Regions from separate parts of the Homo sapiens genome. Here all the other regions are linked to region 5. The links are contacts of gene promoters, found by promoter capture Hi-C in blood cells and fetal thymus (Javierre and others, 2016). All regions are on one chromosome and are shown on one strand. The core of a region is centred on a gene start or on the middle of the fragment in contact, and the rest is flanking DNA. Distances in the headings are between cores, read along the strand shown. Region 1 overlaps LRRK1 (leucine rich repeat kinase 1). Region 2 has its middle 5.4 kb from the start of TARS3. Region 3 overlaps TARS3 (threonyl-tRNA synthetase 3). Region 4 overlaps ALDH1A3 (aldehyde dehydrogenase 1 family member A3). Region 5 holds the start of SELENOS (selenoprotein S). Region 6 overlaps TARS3 (threonyl-tRNA synthetase 3). Region 7 has its middle 6.1 kb from the start of LINC02348.

Evidence for each region. Contacts are between HindIII fragments. The CHiCAGO score rates a contact against its expected background, and 5 or more counts as called.
Region 1: a contact is called between a fragment that was not itself captured here and the fragment with the promoter of SELENOS in region 5, in 9 of 17 cell types (M0 macrophages, total B cells, M2 macrophages and 6 more). The highest score is 10.4, in M0 macrophages.
Region 2: a fragment that was not itself captured here is called in contact with the fragment with the promoter of SELENOS in region 5 in 15 of 17 cell types (neutrophils, monocytes, naive B cells and 12 more); the score reaches 12.3 in neutrophils.
Region 3: a contact is called between a fragment that was not itself captured here and the fragment with the promoter of SELENOS in region 5, in 7 of 17 cell types (megakaryocytes, M0 macrophages, naive CD4 T cells and 4 more). The highest score is 9.6, in megakaryocytes.
Region 4: a contact is called between a fragment that was not itself captured here and the fragment with the promoter of SELENOS in region 5, in 2 of 17 cell types (M0 macrophages and M2 macrophages). The highest score is 9.2, in M0 macrophages.
Region 6: a contact is called between a fragment that was not itself captured here and the fragment with the promoter of SELENOS in region 5, in 5 of 17 cell types (total CD8 T cells, M0 macrophages, monocytes and 2 more). The highest score is 7.4, in total CD8 T cells.
Region 7: a fragment that was not itself captured here is called in contact with the fragment with the promoter of SELENOS in region 5 in 3 of 17 cell types (megakaryocytes, M1 macrophages and M0 macrophages); the score reaches 11.1 in megakaryocytes.

What each region holds. Positions count from the first base shown.
Region 1 is chr15:100,921,688-100,924,387 of GRCh38, reverse strand. All of the region lies in intron 1 of LRRK1 (leucine rich repeat kinase 1), which reads right to left. Among named protein-coding and RNA genes, the nearest start is that of LRRK1, 3.7 kb to the right of the region's middle. RefSeq lists an enhancer at 1-229. The HindIII fragment of the contact is 2,910 bases long and covers 1-2,700 here.
Region 2 is chr15:101,728,539-101,731,238 of GRCh38, reverse strand. No RefSeq gene overlaps it. Among named protein-coding and RNA genes, the nearest start is that of TARS3, 5.4 kb to the right of the region's middle. The HindIII fragment of the contact is 3,967 bases long and covers 1-2,700 here.
Region 3 is chr15:101,676,381-101,679,080 of GRCh38, reverse strand. All of the region lies in intron 12 of TARS3 (threonyl-tRNA synthetase 3), which reads left to right. Among named protein-coding and RNA genes, the nearest start is that of TM2D3, 25 kb to the right of the region's middle. RefSeq lists an enhancer at 2,487-2,700. The HindIII fragment of the contact is 5,094 bases long and covers 1-2,700 here.
Region 4 is chr15:100,901,846-100,904,545 of GRCh38, reverse strand. The region is part of intron 9 of ALDH1A3 (aldehyde dehydrogenase 1 family member A3); the gene reads right to left. All of the region lies in intron 1 of ALDH1A3-AS1 (ALDH1A3 antisense RNA 1), which reads left to right. Among named protein-coding and RNA genes, the nearest start is that of ALDH1A3-AS1, 16 kb to the left of the region's middle. The HindIII fragment of the contact is 2,827 bases long and covers 1-2,700 here.
Region 5 is chr15:101,276,123-101,278,822 of GRCh38, reverse strand. It overlaps SELENOS (selenoprotein S), which reads left to right and starts at 1,338. Exons shown (of 6, transcript NM_018445.6): 1 at 1,338-1,481; 2 at 2,148-2,282. The coding sequence starts at 1,406. RefSeq lists a silencer at 1,133-1,462. The HindIII fragment of the contact is 1,843 bases long and covers 381-2,223 here.
Region 6 is chr15:101,708,127-101,710,826 of GRCh38, reverse strand. It overlaps TARS3 (threonyl-tRNA synthetase 3), which reads left to right. Exons shown (of 19, transcript NM_152334.3): 6 at 1,917-2,034. Among named protein-coding and RNA genes, the nearest start is that of TARS3, 15 kb to the left of the region's middle. The HindIII fragment of the contact is 3,396 bases long and covers 1-2,700 here.
Region 7 is chr15:101,619,104-101,621,803 of GRCh38, reverse strand. No RefSeq gene overlaps it. Among named protein-coding and RNA genes, the nearest start is that of LINC02348, 6.1 kb to the right of the region's middle. The HindIII fragment of the contact is 6,686 bases long and covers 1-2,700 here.

The DNA.
Region 1 (2,700 bases), core at 75-2,574, 350 kb after region 5:
AGCCAAACCCATCAGGTGTGGTCAGTGGGAAGGCACAGCTCCCCCCATCCCATCTTGATGCGGGGCTCAGGTATTGTCTACCTGAGAAGAGTCTCAAACAAACCCCAGACAATTGGAAAACACATACTGGTAACAGCTTCAATCATTGTTCAGTCAACGCACACCTACTGTCACATGCAAGGTAGCCAGGCTCTGTGTGAGGCTCAGTGGCACCAAGATGGCTCAAGGAGGCTCTTGCCCTCAGGGGCACACTCCAGTGGGGGTAGGGCAGACATAGTTAAGGTTAGTCACGATACAAGGCTCTCCTTTTGCCCGGGGCCAGTTCTTCTGGAAGCCAGAGGTGAGCACGTCATCCCAAGGGGGTGGTCAGGCAACAGTTCCAAAGACATGGAATTATTACTGGTTATGAAGTCAAGTTAGCATGAGCTTTAGCAGAAAGCTAAATGACGGAGGTTAGCAGACATGAGCCTCAAAAATTCTGCCCCTTTCCCAGGGGACATTTGGCAATGTCTGGAGACATTTTTGGTTGCCACAACTTGGCTGGGGGAGAGTGCTACAGGCCTCTAATGGGTAGAGGTCAATGATGCTGCTAAACATCCTACAATGTACAGGACTGCTATTTGCAACAAAGAATTATCTGGCCCCAAAAGTTCCAGGGTGGAGTTAGACTAATCTCTGAAACTAATGACTATGATAAACTGAGACCAAGTGCTGCTCTTCTATGCTGGGCCCCCACTGAGCTTAGAGTCCCCCCATGGGCATAAGTGCCCATCCTGGTATGGTGATTGAAGGACCAGAGGGAGGGTAAGACCCATGCCTAGCTCAGGCCTGACATGAGGTACTACCATAAGTAATGCATGTGCGCCTATCCTTGTTCTTATAGCATATCCTACATGTGATGAAGTACGAGGTAATTAGCACCTCTTGTCTGTGTTCTCTCAGATAGACAACTCTGAAATGGGGAGTGATAGTGCAGCCAAAAATATATTTTTTAAATCAAGGTTATATAAAAATAATGCCTAAGAGAATCTGTACAGGCAAAAGCATAGCGTGGACGTTAAAGGTGTGGACTGCCTGTGTCACATGTTCGCAGTGTGACTCCCAGCTGAAAGGTATGTGTGTCTCAGTTTTCACCTGTTAAAAATAGACATCCACCCTTATGCCCGGGCCTGCTAGTGGGGTTACTGTGTGAATTCAACCAAAGTGAAGTTTCTGCAGCCTCTCTCTACGACAGGGCTGGGGTGGTCATTACCTGTAGTACCAGCGCACAGACTTGGAGGCCAGCGGGTCTCCCACTTCCCTGCTAATTAATAAGATCAGAATATCAATGCTGGAGGGCAGATGCCAGCCTCACCAGCGGGTAGGTTCTAGAAGATGCCGTGAGCAGTAGGGGCACGAAGTAAGGTACAGGACAAGGCTGTGGGAATTTCTCACCTAAAAGCCTAGAACTCAGGCACCTGGCCCAGGTGGACTGGACTCGTCAAGGCAGGGAAAGGTGGAGCTAGAAAAGCCAGGCTCCAGCAGCCTTGTGCAAGCTGCACATGTTTCAGAGGCAAAAGGGATGGTCGACACAAACCACGTGTGGGAAACACCTGTGTTTGAAGTTGGGAAGCCTGAAAAGTCGAAGGAGGAAAGGAAAAACGATCAATCTGGGCAAAATTTAGGGGATGATGAAAGCCTTATAAATAGCAAAACCTGATTTGGAAAATCAACTTGTGACAGAGAGAGGAAGAGCCAGCAAGACAGAATCTGTTTTAAAATAAACGTTCCGATCACACATTCACATCCAGAAACTGAGAAGCACAGTTGCCATCTGCTTTCAGACACCTCTCCAAAACAGCTACCGCACATAACCAACAGCATTTCAAAAATCCAAACGCTAGACATTCTTCCTGAAAACAGAAGTGTCTTACCATACAATGTTTTTAAGTTCTAAAAAAAAAAAAATCTTAAAATTATTTCAGGCTAACCCTCACCCAGCACATTTTGTTCCCCTTTTCATTTTCAGTTTCCTTTTGAAAATCACTTTACCAGTGGAAGACTCTGCCCCTGGAGCAGTTTTAAAATTCTAGTTACTATTTTGGCTTATATTCTAAGGTAGAAGTTTTAAGATGAGGTAATTCAAATTTTGCTCAATCTTTGCCCTCAAACGGATCTTTGCTTCCTCCTGCTTCTTTTGGGTCCAGAGAGGTGCCAACAAGTGATGATTACAAGTTACATGTCTTCATTATACACCCTAAAGAGGGCATCAAGAGGTTTTCAGCAGTAATGATGGTTTAAATGATTTTTCAAAACCTCATCAATTTCCTTTTGCCAACTATTTATACCTGCATTAATGAATAAACCTAAACATTTAATGGAAAAGAAAATAGATGGGTGCGGTGGTTCACGCTTGTAATCCCAGCTCTTTGGGAGGCCGAGGAGAGTGGATCACTTGAGGTCAGGAGTTCGAGATCACCCTGGCCAATATGGTAAAAACCCATCTCTACTAAAATTACAAAAATTAGCTGGGCATGCTGGTGGGCGCCTGTAATCCCAGCTACTTGGGAGGCCGAGGCATGAGAATCACTTAAACTGGGGGAGGTGGAGGTTGCAGTGAGCCAAGATTGCACCACTGCACTCCAACCTGGGTGACAGAGCAAGACTCTAGAGAAAAGAAAAGAGAAGAACCTGTCATTCATTCTACAAATGTCTTATTGA
Region 2 (2,700 bases), core at 173-2,672, 450 kb before region 5:
TTTTGATCACCTGATCAAGATATTGCCTGATTTCTCCATTGTATAATTACTTTTTGTTTTCTCCCTTGCAACTGGTTAACAGCCTGTGGGGGAACATTTTATGTCCATGCCAGTATCCTGCTGCTTTTCAGCACTGCCCCCTAGATTGAGCATGATGATTCTTGTCTGATCCAGTCCTTACTATGAAGGTGGCAAAGTGATGGTTTTCTAATTTCCCATTTACCTGTGTTTGCCATTTAGTCCATGGCATAGACTATAAACTGAGCTCTGGCTTCTTTCCCATTTTTTTCTATTATTGGTTGGACTTGTGAGTTCCCATATTTTTTAATGGTTTACAATTCATTACTTAATTATTTTTGAAGTTCAATTGGTTTGGCTGGTGGGATCCCTTCAAGCTGGTTCCTGTGCCCTTGTATCATGTTCCCATCATTTTTGTGGAGAGCGCTTTGTTAATTTCCAGCAAAACAAAGTGCTCTACGCTTATCTTGAACTTACATGTCTGATATCATTTGGATATCTGTCCCCTCCAAGTCTCATGTTGAAATTTCACCCCCAGTGTTGCAGGTGGGGCCTAGTGGGAGGTGTCTGGTTCATGAGGACAGATCCCTTATGAATGGCTTGGTGCCGTCCTCGACAGATCCCTTATGAATGGCTTGGTGCCGTCCTCGACAGATCCCTTATGAATGGCTTGGTGCCGTCCTGGACAGATCCCTTATGAATGGCTTGGTGCCGTCCTGGACAGATCCCTTATGAATGGCTTGGTGCCGTCCTGGACAGATCCCTTATGAATGGCTTGGTGCCGTCCTGGACAGATCCCTTATGAATGGCTTGGTGCCGTCCTGGACAGATCCCTTATGAATGGCTTGGTGCCATCCTCGACAGATCCCTTATGAATGGCTTGGTGCCGTCCTCGACAGATGCCTTATGAATGGCTTGGTGCTGTCCTCACAGTAATGATTGAGTCCTCACTCTTAGCACCTGTGAGAACTAATTATTTAAAAGAGCCTCACATCTCTCCCCTCTCTCTTGCTTCTGCTTTCCTGTCATGTGACTTTTGTACATGTGGGCTCCCCTTTGCCTTCTGCCATGAGTGGAAGATTCCTGAAACCCTCACCAGATGCAGATGCTGGCACCATGCTTCTTGTACAGCCTGCAGAAGTGTGAGCCAAATATACCTCTTTTCTTTGTAAATTATCCAGCCTCAGGTATTTCCTTGTAGCAACATAAATGGACTAAGTCAATGTCCCAGCTCTGGAATAGGCCTTTCTGCCAGGAACCCTTTAATGAGGAAAGGTATTAGAGGTCGGGACCTTTATCTCTTGGTTATCTACTTGTAGATAACCAAATTCATTGTTTTCTAGTTTATTTTCTGTTTCTTTTTGTGATGATAAGCAGATATATGCATGTTTTCATTTTCTCTTTTTTCTTATACAACATGTAACATACTACATGTGTACATTACTGTTTTTTTTTTGTTTGTTTGTTTGTTTTGACGGAGTCTTACTCTGTTGCCAGGCTGGAGTGCAGTGGCGTGATCTTGGCTCACTCCAACCTCCACCTCCCTGGTTCAAGAGATTCTCCTGCCTCAGTCTCCTGCATAGCTGGGACTATAGGCGTGCACCACCACGCCCAGCTAATTTTTGTATTTTTAGCAGAGACAGGGTTTCACCATGTTGGCCAGGATGGTCCCAATCTCTTGACCTTGTGATCTGCCTGCCTTGGCCTCTCAAAGTGCTGGGATTACTTGCGTGAGCCACTGTGCCCAGCCTGAACATTACTTTTTTTGCTTCATAAAATCTCCTGGAAATCGTTCCATATCAGTTCAGAGATCCTCTTAATTATTTTTTTAACAGCTTCATAGTGCTCCATTTTTTGTGTGTACTATAGCTTATTGAACCAATCTCCTATGAGGTACTTTACAATCACAACTCTTCCGTTGAATTTGTGTGCATATGCATTTTTGCCTTCTTGTATCTTCAGAATAAATTTCTAGAAGTGGGATTGCTGGGTTGAAAAAGAAATGTATATTTAGTGTTATTAGAACTTTGTCATTGCTTTATTTTGCTGTCATTTTTCTCAATTTTTCAATTGAGAATTTATTTCCATTCTTTTGTTTTTATCAATATAGGTGTTAGAGTTATGATTTTTTTCTGATTACTGATCTGTGTATTGCATAGATTTGTAGTATTTTCATTATCACTATTTTAAAGAAAGTCTGTACTTTCCTTTTTCATTTCTCCTTTCAATAAAGAGATGCTTAAGAGTTTTAAAATTTCCATGTGAAAAGGCTTTTTGTTGTTGTTTTATTTTTAATTTCTAATTTTATTGCATTGGGGGCTGAGAGTGTTGTACCTAATATTTCTACTTTATGAAACCTACTGAGGTCTTTCTTGAGCTCTACAAATGATTAATTTATATGAAGAATCTATACATTTGTTTAAGAGGAAGGTGCATCTTCCATTTTCAGGGTATAGTTTATATAGATAGATATTTATATATACATATTGATAATGTGAATATATTCAAAATATCTACTTTTTAATTATATTGTTTGGGTCTTTTACATCCTTACTTTTTTGTGGGGGCACTTGAATGTACTCAGAGAGTGGTTTGTTATTTTCCTTTTTTTTTTTTTTTTTGAGATGGAGTTTTGCTGTTGTTGCCCAAGCTGGAGTGCGATGGCATGATCTCAGCTCACCA
Region 3 (2,700 bases), core at 162-2,661, 400 kb before region 5:
GAAAGGCTTGAAAGCAATGAGAGAGAAATTATGCATTACCTTTAAAGAGAAAAACAATTTGAATGATAGCAATTTCTCATTAAAAAACAAAAAACAAAAATCCTGGAGGCCAGAAGGAAGTGGCACAATACTTTTAAAGTGCTGAAAAAAGAAAAAGGAATTTTCAACCCAGAATTCTATGTCTAAAGAAAATACCCTTCAGCAATTGAGGGGAAATCAAGACATTGGACCCACCAAAAGAATGGCTGTAGGAAGTTTTCTAAACAGAAAGGAAATGATGAAAAGAGGAATCAGGGAACTTTAGGAAGAAAAAGATTGTGAAAATAAAAACAGGTAAATACAATATATTTTCCTTCTCCTTTTGCGTTTTCTAAATTATGTTTGATCATTGAAGTAAAAATCACATGTTCTTTCTGATGTTCTAAATGTATGTAGAAGAAATGTTTAAGAAAATTATACTATAAATGGGGTAAGGTATAGGGAATAAAAGTTTTTGTACTTCACCTGAGCTGGTAAAGTGACAATATCTGGACTGATAAGTTATATAATACCTAGAGAAACCAATAAAAAAAAAAGCTATAGACAGGGATACACTAAGAGAACCTATAGATAAATTGGAATTGAATTCCAGAAAAATGTTAAAGTAATCCATAGGAAGACAGGAAAAATAAAACAGAAATGAATAACAAGAGAGAACAAGAAGGAAACAAAAAGGCAGTGTAAAGCCCTAACATATTAAGTGTAAATGGTCTAAATAAACCAATTAAAAGAGATTGACATAGTAGATTAAAAAATATGACCCAGGCTGGGTGAGGTGGCTCATGCCTGTAATTCCAGCACTTTGGGAGGCTGAGGCAGGCAGATCATGAGGTCAGGAGTTCAAGACCAGCCTGACCAACATGGTGAAACCCCATCTCTACTAAAAATACATAAATTAGCTGGGTGTGGTGGCACACACCTGTAATCCCAGCTATCAGGATGCTGAGGCAAGAGAATCGCTTGAACTTGGGAGGCAGAGGTTGCAGTGAGCCGAGATCATGCCACTGCACTCCAGCCTGGGTGACAGTGATACTCCATCTCAAAAAAAAAAAAAAAATGACCCCCAAAAAAAAAGAAGTCCCATGATATGCCAATTAAAAGCTGGAGAAAGGCCAGGCATGGTAGCACACACCTGTAGTCCCAGCACTTTGGGAGGCTGAGGTGGGTGGATCACCTGAGGTTGGGAGTTCGAGACCAGACTGACTAACATGGAGAAACCCTGTCTCTACTAAAAATACAAAATTAGCCAGGCTTGGTGGCACGTGCCTGTAATCCCAGCACTTTGGGAGGCTGAGGTGGGTGGATCACCTGAGGTTGGGAGTTCGAGACTAGACTGACTAACATGGAGAAACCCTGTCTCTACTAAAAATACAAAATTAGCCAGGCGTGGTGGCATGTGCCTGTAATCCCAGCTACTCAGGAGGCTGAGACAGGAGAATTGCTTGAACCCGGGAGGTGGAGGTTGTGGTGAGCTGAGACTGTGCCATTGCACTGCAGCCTGGGCAACAAGAGCAAAACTCCGTCTCAAAAAAAAAAAAAAGCTGGAGAACTAGGAAAGCTGATGGTATAACTCCCAGTCTAAGGCCAAAAGCCTCAGTGGGGTGAGCAAAGGAGGGAGCTGGTGTAAGTCCCAGAGTTGGTGGGCCTGAGAACCAGGAGCTCCAGTGTCTGAGAACAGGAGAAAATAAATGTCCCAACTCAAAAAGAGAGAGAATTTGCCTTTCCTCTGCCTTTGAGTTCTATTCCTGCCCTCAACAGATTGGATGAGGCCCACCCACATTGGTGAGGGTGGAAGTTGTTTACCAATTCCACTGATTCAGATGCTCATCTCTTCGAGAAACGCACTCACAGGCATTCCCAGAAATAAATGTTGTAAGGGTGGCCAGCTGTCTGGCATCTTTTAGCTCAGTCGAGTTAACACTTAAAAGTAGCCATCACAAGCCATTATCCTCAGCAAACTAACACAGGAATAGAAAACCAAACTCCATATGTTCTCACTTATAAGTGGGAACTGAACAATGAGAACAGATGGACACAGGGAGGGGAACAACACACACTGGGGCCTGTCGGAGGGAAGAGGAGGGAGGGAGAGCATCAGGATAAATAGCTAATGCATTCTGGGCTTAAATACTTAGGTGACGGGTTCATAGGTGGAGCAAACCACCATGGCACACATATACCTATGTAACAAACTACACATCCTGCACGTGCACCCAGGAACTTAAAAAAAAAAAAAAAAGGGTGTAGTGGCTCATGCCTATAATCCCAGCACTTTGGGAGGCTGAGGCAGGTGGGTCACTTGAGGCCAGGAGTTCGAGACCAGCCTGGCCAACATGGCGAAACCCCTTCTCTACTAAAAAAAAAAAAATACAAAAATTAGCCGAGCATGGTGGCGAGCACCTGTAGTTCCAGCTACTCGGGAGCCTGAGGCATGAGAACCGCTTGAACCCGAGAGGCAGAGGTTGCAGTGAGCCAAGACCACACCACTGCATTCCAGCCTGGGTGACAGAGCAAGACTGTCTCAAAAAACAAAACAAAACAAAAAACTAGCCATTGCAGTTAATGAATGAAAGACTTGATGTCTCAAATCCATCAAATTCCCTGCATTTCAGCTGCCTCTCTCTGGTTTAAGCCACTGTCATCTTGCTCCTAATTGACTCA
Region 4 (2,700 bases), core at 156-2,655, 370 kb after region 5:
TTACTTTAGCTGGGATTTTTAGATGGGAAAACTGGTTTCATTCCAATGATCATAAACAGAAAAAGAAGCAAACCCAGTGGTGCAATTGGATGACGGTCTGTCCTGGAGGAGCAGGAGAGAGGGCATAAACCGTGCATGCCACTTGACCAATCATCTCATGAAATATGGACCCAGTTTAAAAATACTAACTCAGATCCATACCTCACACTTTATACCAGGCCAAACTCCAAACCCAGTTTAAAAATACTGACTCAGATCCATACCTCACACCTTATACCAGGCCAAACTCCAAACCCAGTTTAAAAATACTAACTCAGATCCATACCTCACACCTTATACCAGGCCAAACTCCAAACCCAGTTTAAAAATACTAACTCAGATCCATACCTCACACTTTATACCAGGCCAAACTCCAAATAGATCAAAGATATAACCAGGAAAAACAAAACCATAAAAGTTTTATATGTGGGAGACTTATCCTGCAAACTTGGAGTGCCTTCTAATGACTCAAAATGCAGAAGCCAAAAAAGAAAAGATGTATAATTTTGAGTATGTAAAAAAAATGGGGTGGGGGCAAAATTATCATAACAAAGAGCAAAACAACAAACTTGGAAAAAATATTAACAAGTCATATTCATAGAAAGCTAATCTCTCTACTATGTATGTAAAGAGGTCTTAGAAGTGATAAGAAAAATGCCTAACAGCTTGCAAGAAAAATACGCAAAGCACATTTGATAATAAAGGAAATACAAACGGTTTTTAAATATATAATAAGATGTTCTACCTTGCTTATTATAAGCGGTAGATGCATATTAAAATGAAACAAGATAGCATTTTTAACTCTCCTATGGGCAAAAATCCATATTCTGTTGGAAAGGGTAAAGAAACAGACAAACTTCTAGAATGTTAGTAGGAATACACGTTGGTTCAGCCTCTATGGAAGGTAATTCAGCAACACTTAAGGAAATTAGAAATGTGTTCCCACTTAGCAACCCACTTTGGGAAAGCTGTCCCAGGGATTTCCTTGTGTGTGTGTGAAATCACATACTCTGAGGCCTTGTGTGTGACTGCACATACCTGCATGCTAATCAGAAGATGTTACTGAAATTCTGGTGGCTTCATCCAGCAGAATTCCATACACATGTGAAAAAGAATCAGGCAGGTTCCCATGGACTGGTATAAAGAGCTCTTCCAGTTTTTTTAGGGAACAATAAACAAAGTGCAAGATGATATACTATCATGGAAACTTCCGTGTAAAAATAACAAAGGCAATCAGGACTTGCATTCATCTGCTTGCATGCACACGAAAACATTCTAGAGGGAAACATGAGGAACTAAGAACTGGGGATACCGTGGGGAGAAGGGTAAGAACCAGGTGTACAAAGGTGGGGGCGGGAGGGGCGGGAATCCTTTCACTATAGACGTTTTTAGGCGTTTTGGGGTTTGACCCGTGTATGTGTACTCCACTCAAAAAAAGTAACAAAAACAGCTTTGCAACAGATCCCGGAAGAGCTCAAGGTTCTCTCAACTTCTCTCTGGGTGAACCAAGTCTCAGGTTAACAGTTCCAGATGCTGCTGAGCTGCTCTTCCCCTCCCTGAGGGGCCAAAAGGGACACAGGGGCTTCGCCCAACCGCAGGTCCTCCCTGGCTGCTGGGCATATGCCATCTGGCAGACCCTGTTTGTCCTGCAGGCAGTGCTGGGTCCCCGTGGAAAACCTACACATCCAAACTCCACACTCCCTGGAGAGCCCGTAGGAACACATTGTTTAAATCTAATAATCCTCCATGAAATGTCAGCTGGTGCCTTACAGTACAGGAAGAGAGACCTGCCAGGAAGTGAGATGACGCAGCAGGGCACAACACCAGAAACAGGGAAATACGGCCCCCACAGGACTGGCTCAAGGCTGTGCTCGGCTCTCTGCCCGGAGGACGCTGCCGGATCCTGCCCGGCCAGGTGGCCTGCATAATGTTTATGTGCCTCGTTGCTCAGTTGCCAAATAAACCTGAATGATTTTGGAGCATTCCTGTGAGCGCTAGCCCGGCCGTGGACCCGGATCTAGGTCAGCTAGCTGTTTTACAGGCATGAGACAGACAGGACTATTTAGACAGCTGTAAGTCCTCTCAGAGTAAAATCTTATTACCGTAGATGAAAAAGCACTTTGGAAGAAAAAGAAACCCCAACAGCATTCTAAAATAATATGCTGAGGTTAGACGGCTTTAGTGAGCTTTCAGAAGGACTTTGAGCGGTGGCATAAATGCACTGATGAAATCAGCACCCATTCTGCCTCTATCTGTTCTCTTGGAAGAAATCGGTGTATCTGGCCTCAAAAGTCAAGACTCAGACATCAGGCATAAGCCAAGAAAAGAGCCACAGAAAGAGACTTACAAATAACGACGGGGTAAAAAAGTTTCTTCTGTATGGGGATCAGTTCACATATTTCCCACTGATTGTGGATTAGCTTTAAAACTCACGGCGGATTCAATAATGACTTGTGGTCATGTTTGCGTTCAGATCTGAAATCCAGCCGAGGCCATTAGACAACCTTGTGTCACTGACCGCTGGGTTTGGGGCACAGGCTGGGCAGGCAATGACTGAGGAGAAGGAATGTTAGCCACAAGAAGTGCTTTCTGCCAGGGTCACGTGGCGTCGGAGTGTGTGGACTGGGGCCAGTGGAGGGTGGGCACTGATGGCCAGAAATG
Region 5 (2,700 bases), core at 89-2,588:
AGGCGGATTTAAAGCTAATCTGGGACTGAGAATTGCAACTAATTCCATAGAAGTCATTCAATTTAGCACATAAATGTTCCTGCAAGATGCCAGAGCAAGTGAGAAATCATCTGTAGCAAAGCAAAGAGTGGTGATGGTTCATCACCTTTTACAACGGAAAGGCAAACATGAAGAAGGAAATTCTCCCTCCTAAAATTCCTCATTAAATCGATAAGCTATCTTCACAGCCTTTATGGATAACATCCAGAGTCCTCGGTTCATCTGAGGAGTCCATTTTCAAGGTGGCCAACAGGGAAGAAGAGCTTTCAGGCTTCTCTTTGCTATGGCTCATGAATGCCAGGTCCCCTTTATTGCTTTCTGAACACACTGCTGGGAAAGCTTGATGAGGTCAGTGCTCAAATCCCTGCAGCTGTCCCCCTTGAGGAACTTCTTGGCAAACCTGCATTGAAGAAACACTGATTGCGTTCACGCTTCATGTCATGGTTTGCCTTCCCCACACTGCTCCTGGCGACAGTGGTGACGCAGCACTCGGATGTTGTCACCTATTCATTATTTTTTCAGTTCTATTCCCAATTCCCAACCCTTCTTTTGAAACACAGCTAGGTATGTGCACTTCAAATGCTCCAGAAAAACCCAAGGTCACATTTCAAATAGGATGGTTATGGTCACCATAAAGGTGGTGACGTTTGAGTGGTGGAAGAGGGTGCGGGACGGCGTTGCAGGCAGAGGAACACAGCCAGGACACTATTATAAGTAACTCTGTGATCGTGTCTTGTGGTGATACAGTATAATTCAACACAGGTTAGAGCAGTTACTATGATCGTTCTTTCCTAAAAGGCTTTGATTTTGGAGAAAGAACCTTGAGGATCGGTGGGGACTTTCTTGGCCTGAAAGGTATCACCAGCAGCAGGAGCAGGAGGCTGCTCACATTTCGTGTCTTCACTTGGGGTGGACGTTGGCTGCAACCCTCAAATGCTGGGAGTCGTCAACCAACTGAGCCCTGTTGTCCAATGTGCCCCGGGCAAGGATGTGGGTGCAAATCCTGCTTCCGGGCGACCACTGACTTCCTTGGCTTCAGTGTCCAATTAGAAAAAAAAAAGAAAGTAGAAATTCGGTAAGAAATCCGTGAACGAGGTCCGTCCTCCACCCCCGACTCAAGCCAAGAGATAGCACAGAACGTTCCCACACGCGCTGTCCCGGCCCCGGCGAGCGTAGCCGGGATTTCTCCCCCGCCACGCCCCTCGGCCACGCCCCCCTGCGTTTGGCCCAGCGACGGGGCGGGGTCGGCCTGCGATTGGCCGGGACCACGACCGCGTCCGGGCGCGCCACGTGTGCGTAGGAGCGCACCGGAAGCGCCCGGCTGGAGGCGCGGCGGCAGGGCTGGGCGGCGGCGGCGGCGGCGGTCATGGAACGCCAAGAGGAGTCTCTGTCCGCGCGGCCGGCCCTGGAGACCGAGGGGCTGCGCTTCCTGCACACCACGGGTGAGTCGTTGCGGGGCAGCCGGGCGCGCGCCGCCACTTTTGCGACGCGCAGCCATGATGGGTGGGTCGTCCGCCGCTGCACCGGGCGCCGGAGCCTGGGAGGCCTGGGAACGGTCGGGCGTTGGCGCTTACGCGGACCTTGGGCAGCAGGCCCGGACCTTGCGCGGAGGCTTCTCGGGAGCCGCACTTCCCTGGGCGGCTCGGCTGTCCCTTGTTTGCGCAAGTCTTTTTTGCGAACCAAGCCCTTCCTGTGGTAGTTACTGGGGTCACTCGGCCGTTGGCGTTTGCCTCTGGGACCCGTCCCACACAGCCCCATACACACTCCTGACTCCCCGCGCTGTCACCCCTTTCTATGTGGCTCTGAAAGGCCTTTGCCTTCCTGATTCAGATTAGTTGCTCTTCATTCTTCAAAACCCAGTTGCTGTGCCCTCCACACTCTAACTGCCCCCGACTCCCCAGATGGTTGGGAAGTCTCACTTCTCAGTGATCCCTGAATTGTCGCACTTCTTGAGTTCGTGTTTTAACGATCTACTTAGGAGGCTTTTTCCTCAGCCTAGACCATGAAGGCTTTGAGGGCAGGAGTTACACTTTGTGTTTGTTGAGTCTTATGGAAAGGTCAACTAGTAGTGTCATTTTTAGTTTTTTGAAAACTGTTTTTCTTTTCAGTGGGCTCCCTGCTGGCCACCTATGGCTGGTACATCGTCTTCAGCTGCATCCTTCTCTACGTGGTCTTTCAGAAGCTTTCCGCCCGGCTAAGAGCCTTGAGGCAGAGGCAGCTGGACCGAGCTGCGGCTGCTGTGGGTTAGTGCCTGATAACCGAAATGAAAGCGGTGGTTTTGCACCTCCTTTATATTAAGAGTTAGTCTCTTAGTAAAAGTAAGAGGGGCCACACAGGAAGACCCTGTCTCTATTTAAAAAAAAAAAAAATAGCCGGGAGTGGCGGCACGCACCTGTAGTCCCAGCTGCTCAGGAGGCTGAGGCGGGATAATCACTTGAGTCCAGGGAGTCAAAGCTGCAGTGGGCTATGCTCGGGCCACACTACACTCCAGCCTGGGCAATTGATTGAGACCTTGTCTTTAAAAAAAAAAAAAAAAAAAAAGTAGGAAGTATATGGTTCTCGGTGGGGCGCGGTGGCTCACACCTGTAATCCCAGCACTTTGGGAAGCCGAGGCAGGAGGATGACTTGAGGTCAGGGGTTCGAGAACAGCCTGGCCAACAT
Region 6 (2,700 bases), core at 124-2,623, 430 kb before region 5:
CCCTCTCCTTCTCTTGTTTCTGCCTTAAGTTAGCCCCATGGCATCTCTGGCCTGGATGACTATGGTGCATTTTGTCTTTACCTTCTCCTGCACGCTGCTTAATGACCTCCCCAACCGAGCACCCAATGCTGTGTAGCTACTACTTACAGACTTGTCCAATCTGAACCACTATTACTCACAAGCATGAAACTGTGTTTACCTACAACAATTCTTATCTCAAAGGTGTGGGTTTTTTCCCAAATCAATGGCCAGTGCTCCAACTCTCTGGACACCAATGAGGTGTCTAATGATTGAACTCAATTCTGACACTATCTACCCTGAGTTAATGCAGATTCCCCAGGTCAAGGGCTCAGTCCCACAAGACTGGCCCCAATTCAGATGCCAGCTGGAAGTCTGGGCCTTCCATACTTTTGACCTACAGGCTACAAATCGGGAGTTCCCATGACCCCATCCTTGGGTTCAATAATTTGCTAGACTGGCTCACAGAACTCAAGAAGGCACTTTACTTACCTTACCAGTGTATTATAATGGATGTTACAAAGGATAGAGATGAACAGCCTGATGAAAGATGCTTATGGTGAGGTATGTGGGAGGGACCACAGAGATGCCATGTGTCTCTGGGCGCCATGCCCCAAGCACCTGGATGTGTTCAACAACCTGGAAGCTCTGTGAATCTTGTTGTTTAGGGATTTTAATGGAGGTTTCATTATAGAGGCACAATTGATTAAATCATTGACCTTTGGTGATAACCCAATCTCTAGCCCCTCTCCTTTCCCCTAAGGAGGCAGGTGGGGGTGCTGAAAGTCCCAACCCTTTAATCATGCCTTGGTCTTTGTGGTGACCAGTTCCTGCTCTGAAGCTACCTAGGGGACCTAGCCACCAGTCATCTCATCAGCACACAAAAGACACTCGTATCACTCCAGAGATTTCAGGATTTTAAAAACCCTGTGCCAGAAATCTGGATGAAGACCAAATTTGTGTTTCTTACTGTATCACAGTATCACATCCCGTTCATCTCTTGTTAACATGGCTCCAGTATTCGTTCAACAAGATGTTTTTGCTGCCTGCTGTGTGCTCTGTGCTGGGTGCTGGTGATTCAGCAGTGAAGGAACCAGTCTGTCCTCATGGAGCTAACAGTGTTTGGGGGAAGACAGCAAATGCACAAGCAGCCATCTGCTGCCGGGTGGTGATGACTATAGGAACATCAGCCAGGTGTAGGAGGTGTGTGCCATGACAGGCAGGTGGGCAGGAAGGAGCAGGTGGCATTGAAGCCGACCGGAGTGGAGGGAGGGAGCAAGCCCTGAGGATGGGGATACTTATGACATCTGCAGGGAGAAGGTTCCAGGCCTCTGTGGGACTGTCCTGGTGTGGGGATATGTGTGGCTTGTTTGAGGAGTGGCAAGGAAGCTAGTGTGGCAGGAGGGAGTGAGCACTGACCAGGGGGTGACTGAAAGGAAGTTAGTCCATGCATAGCGGAGGCTGAGTGCTGCTGGGAGCACCGCGACTCTGCAGTCCATACAGATGTCTCCCAGCCTTGGTTCCATAGCCAGTGAGGGCAGGGACGTGATGAGCACTGCATCTGGCTCTTGAGCAAAACTAAAGCATGTGAAGGGTAAGGAAGACCACACAAAAGAACAGGCCTCAGAGGAGCTCACAGTCCACCTGGGTGTCTCCTAGCAGGGCTTCCTTCTCCCCTTGCAGCAGAGGAGAAATGAGGCAGGTCTTGGCAACTGTTGATGCCCAGTCTCCCTCACTGAGACACAAGAGTAGTGACTGTATGAACGTTTGACTTTCTGAAGTCCTGGAACAATAAGACAGCAGATTCAAATTTATGGCTGCTGAGGCTCCAGGACAAAGGAAAGAGGGAATGCATAATGTCTGGAAGATGGATGTCGGTTCTCTGCTCTTCTTTTTAGAGCAGTGTCCAGCACAGAATTGTCAGCCCTGGAGAATATATGTAAAGCCATCATAAAAGAAAAGCAACCTTTTGAAAGACTAGAAGTCAGCAAGGAAATCCTCCTGGAAATGTTTAAGGTAACTTGGGGAAACTCCTAAACCTCTTACTAGGAATATTAAAAATCAATATAGACTAGCTTCCCCACCTTCCCCCAAATAATTACCTGTTGCTCACCAAATTATTCCAATCCTGTTAAGCTACTGTGAGGTTGTTACCAGTTACTTGCTGTGACATTTCCCTCCCCATCTATTTCCTGAACATTTGAGGGGAGACATAGGTAGGTAAAGGGCCAGGTGAATAATTTTCACATGTGTGTTTATAAATCTGATTAATTCTGAGTATTGTGAATATCTGTCACCTAAATTCAACAATATTTATAATCCCATATAAAATGCTGCCTTTTTCTCTTTTCTGTGGGAGTTTTCTGTTAACTTTTGTTTCAGATTTTAACCTAGAGTAACCTGTGTAAAACAGTAACTTTCTCTTTATATTTTTTTGACCAACGTACTTAAATATATTCCTGATTTTATGTTTTAAAACATACATATTGGAGAAAACATACATTTTGTTTTTTATTTTTTGGGTTTTTTTTTTTTTTTTTTTTTTTTTTTTCAGACAGAGTCTCTCTTTGCCTCCCAGGCTAGAGTGCAGTGGCACTATCTTGGCTCACTACTATCTTGGCTCACTGCAACCTCCGCCTCCTGGATTCAAGCAATTCTCGTGTCTCAGTCCCTCAGCTGGGA
Region 7 (2,700 bases), core at 183-2,682, 340 kb before region 5:
AATTATAATGTTGGTACACTAGCCAGGTTTTTTTATTATTCTTTGCAGCTTTCTACATCCCACATGGAAGCAGCAATGAGATGTTTTAAAACGAGATGTTTCAAAATCACCATCTCACTCTAGTTTGTCTACAAAGCCATCTATCAAGAACATTATATGAACTTTTAAATACATTCTTCTGTATTTATAGAATGATTTTTAAAGCATTTCCAGCCATGTTTAAAAGCTGTGAATAGTCTTTTTTTTGTAACCTAGTAACCAAAGTTATTAATGAAAGTCACAGTTAAACTTTTTTCCTTTGAAAATAAAATGAATCAACACATAACGAGAAGGTTAACATTTTTCTCTATCTTCTGGAAACTCTTGCATTGTTTTATTTTAAATTTATATAAGCTCTCTGTAACCAATTAGGACAGCATCTCCCATGGATTTTAATAGACCTTGTAATATGTATTACTTTTCTTTTGTGGGGTATCTGTTTATCTGTGCTAGTTAGTTCTAGAGTATGCACATCATGATGGAACATTTGTGTCATTACTTGATGTTCTGATTTTTTATGGCGGTGTAACAAATTACCTCAAAGCTCAGTGGTGTAAAACAGTCACACATTTTCACAGATATTGTGCATCAGACATTTGGACAGGCACAGCAGAATGGTTTGTCTCTGTTCTGTGATGCCTGGGGCCGCAGCTGGGAGACTCCGAGGATGGGGGCTGGAATCACCCACAGGCTCCTTAGTCATCTGCCTGGGGATCCTCTCCACAGGGGCTTCTCCGTGTGGTCTCCCCGCAGGGTCTGGTTTGGGCTCCCTTCCGGCATGCTGGCTGGCCACGCGGAAGCTGTGTCGGCTGTTCTAACCCAGCTCCAGAAGCCAAGCTGCGGTACACGTACCACAGCCCATTAATTGAGTGAGCTACAAAGATCCACCCGAAGCCAAGGGGAGCACACGTGAACTCCTGCTCTGACTGGGGGGGGCAGGAGGGCAGGAAGATTCAGAAAAAGCAATGAAACTAGAAACCACACAGAGGCCATTTTTAGAAAATACCAGTTGCTATAATTAACCTCCAGAGTCTTTCAAGAGCTGGAGGAAGAGCAGGGGAAAAGAAGGTGAGAGGGGCTGGCTGGAGTCTTCCTTCACAATCCCTCAGAACTCACTAGTTCTTTTTTTCTGTAATTAGGTGGGATATTACTTTCCAGTTATTCTTTTGTTCGCACTATTGCCAAGTGTTCCTGTCAAAAGAGTTTCTATTTTGTTGTTTGTGTGTTTGTGTTTTCGAGGATGTGTTAACCCTGTGTCCTTTTCAGGGTCACGCCGCTTACCTTTTATCCAGCAAGGCTTCGCACCTCCTGGGAAATGATTGGTCAGAGGAAGTCAGAAAAGCCTAGAATATAAATGCGCGGCACAAGTCTCAGTTTATCACTGACATTTTTTCTGACCTGAGTAGAATAACTTAGGTAGATAATTTTAGAATCTGAATTGAGTTTAGAAGTCTCCTTATGCCAACTAAAGAATGCAGGCCATTGGATAGTCAGGATTTTTTTTTTCTATTTGTTTTAGGATGCCTCTCAAAATAACTATTTTGTCTATGTTAAAAGTTACCCAAAGTGGCTGGACGTGGTGGCTCACACCTGTAATCTCAACATTTTGGGAGGCCAAGGCAGGCAGATCACCTGAGGTCAGGAGTTCGAGACCTGCCTGGCCAACATGGTGAAACCCCGTCTCTACTAAAAATACAAAAATTAGCCAGGCATGATGGTGGGCACCTATAATCACAGCTACTGGGGAGCCTGAGGCAGGAGAATTGCTTGAACCCGGGAGGCGGAGGTTGCAGCGAGCCGATATCACACCACTGCGCTCCAGTCTGGGGGTCAGAGTGAGTCTCCATCTCAAAAAAAATTTAAAAAAATAAAAAATAAGTTACCCAAAGTGGCCAACCATAACTTCAATTGTCCTTGATGAAATAACATCATTTACATGAATTAGAATTACATGAAAATATGGAGTAAGCAGGTGTTTGGCCTGAGAGGGGCTCGCATGTGGACCAAGACCATCCCACAAGAACTGCAGTGGTGGGTCGGGACCGTGTGCCCACAATCCTGTCCAGAACCTGGCCCAGAGCCGGCTGTCATCAGTCCGGGCTAAGGACCCTCCTGCCATCTGTCTGCTTTCCACGTCTTGAGTGTTTTTCATTTGCGAGAGGACATCTGTTGGGGGAGGGTGGACCTGGAGGCTGGCTGCAGGAGAGACTCACTGGACTCAGATCTGCCCTCTCCCCACAGACATCTTCCTGCAGACAGACAGCGCTTGCTTCCCTGACAGGCTTGATAAAATATTTGGAACCCAGACTCACACTTACCTCCTATAGATGGCGACTCAAGCGGTGTCAGATGTGTTCGTTTTACCAAGTCAGGGTCCCAGGCTGCAGGATTGGAGATCTTGGCTGAATCATGCTAAAACCCCCACTTGTTGAAGCCCACCAACCCCAGACCACCAGAACATCCATCACCAAAAAAGGTCAATGTCTTTAGCTAGCGGCTGGGGAGATACTGCACGTGTGTGAGTCTAAAGCCTCAGTGCTTCTGACTTTACTGGTTGCTGTAATTTCCCACTAACTGCCCAGAGCTGTTGGCTGTGGGTACACAAACAGGTGCCCTGGAGAGCCCCACTGCTCTGGAAGCAGAAGATGGGCATGGCCACAG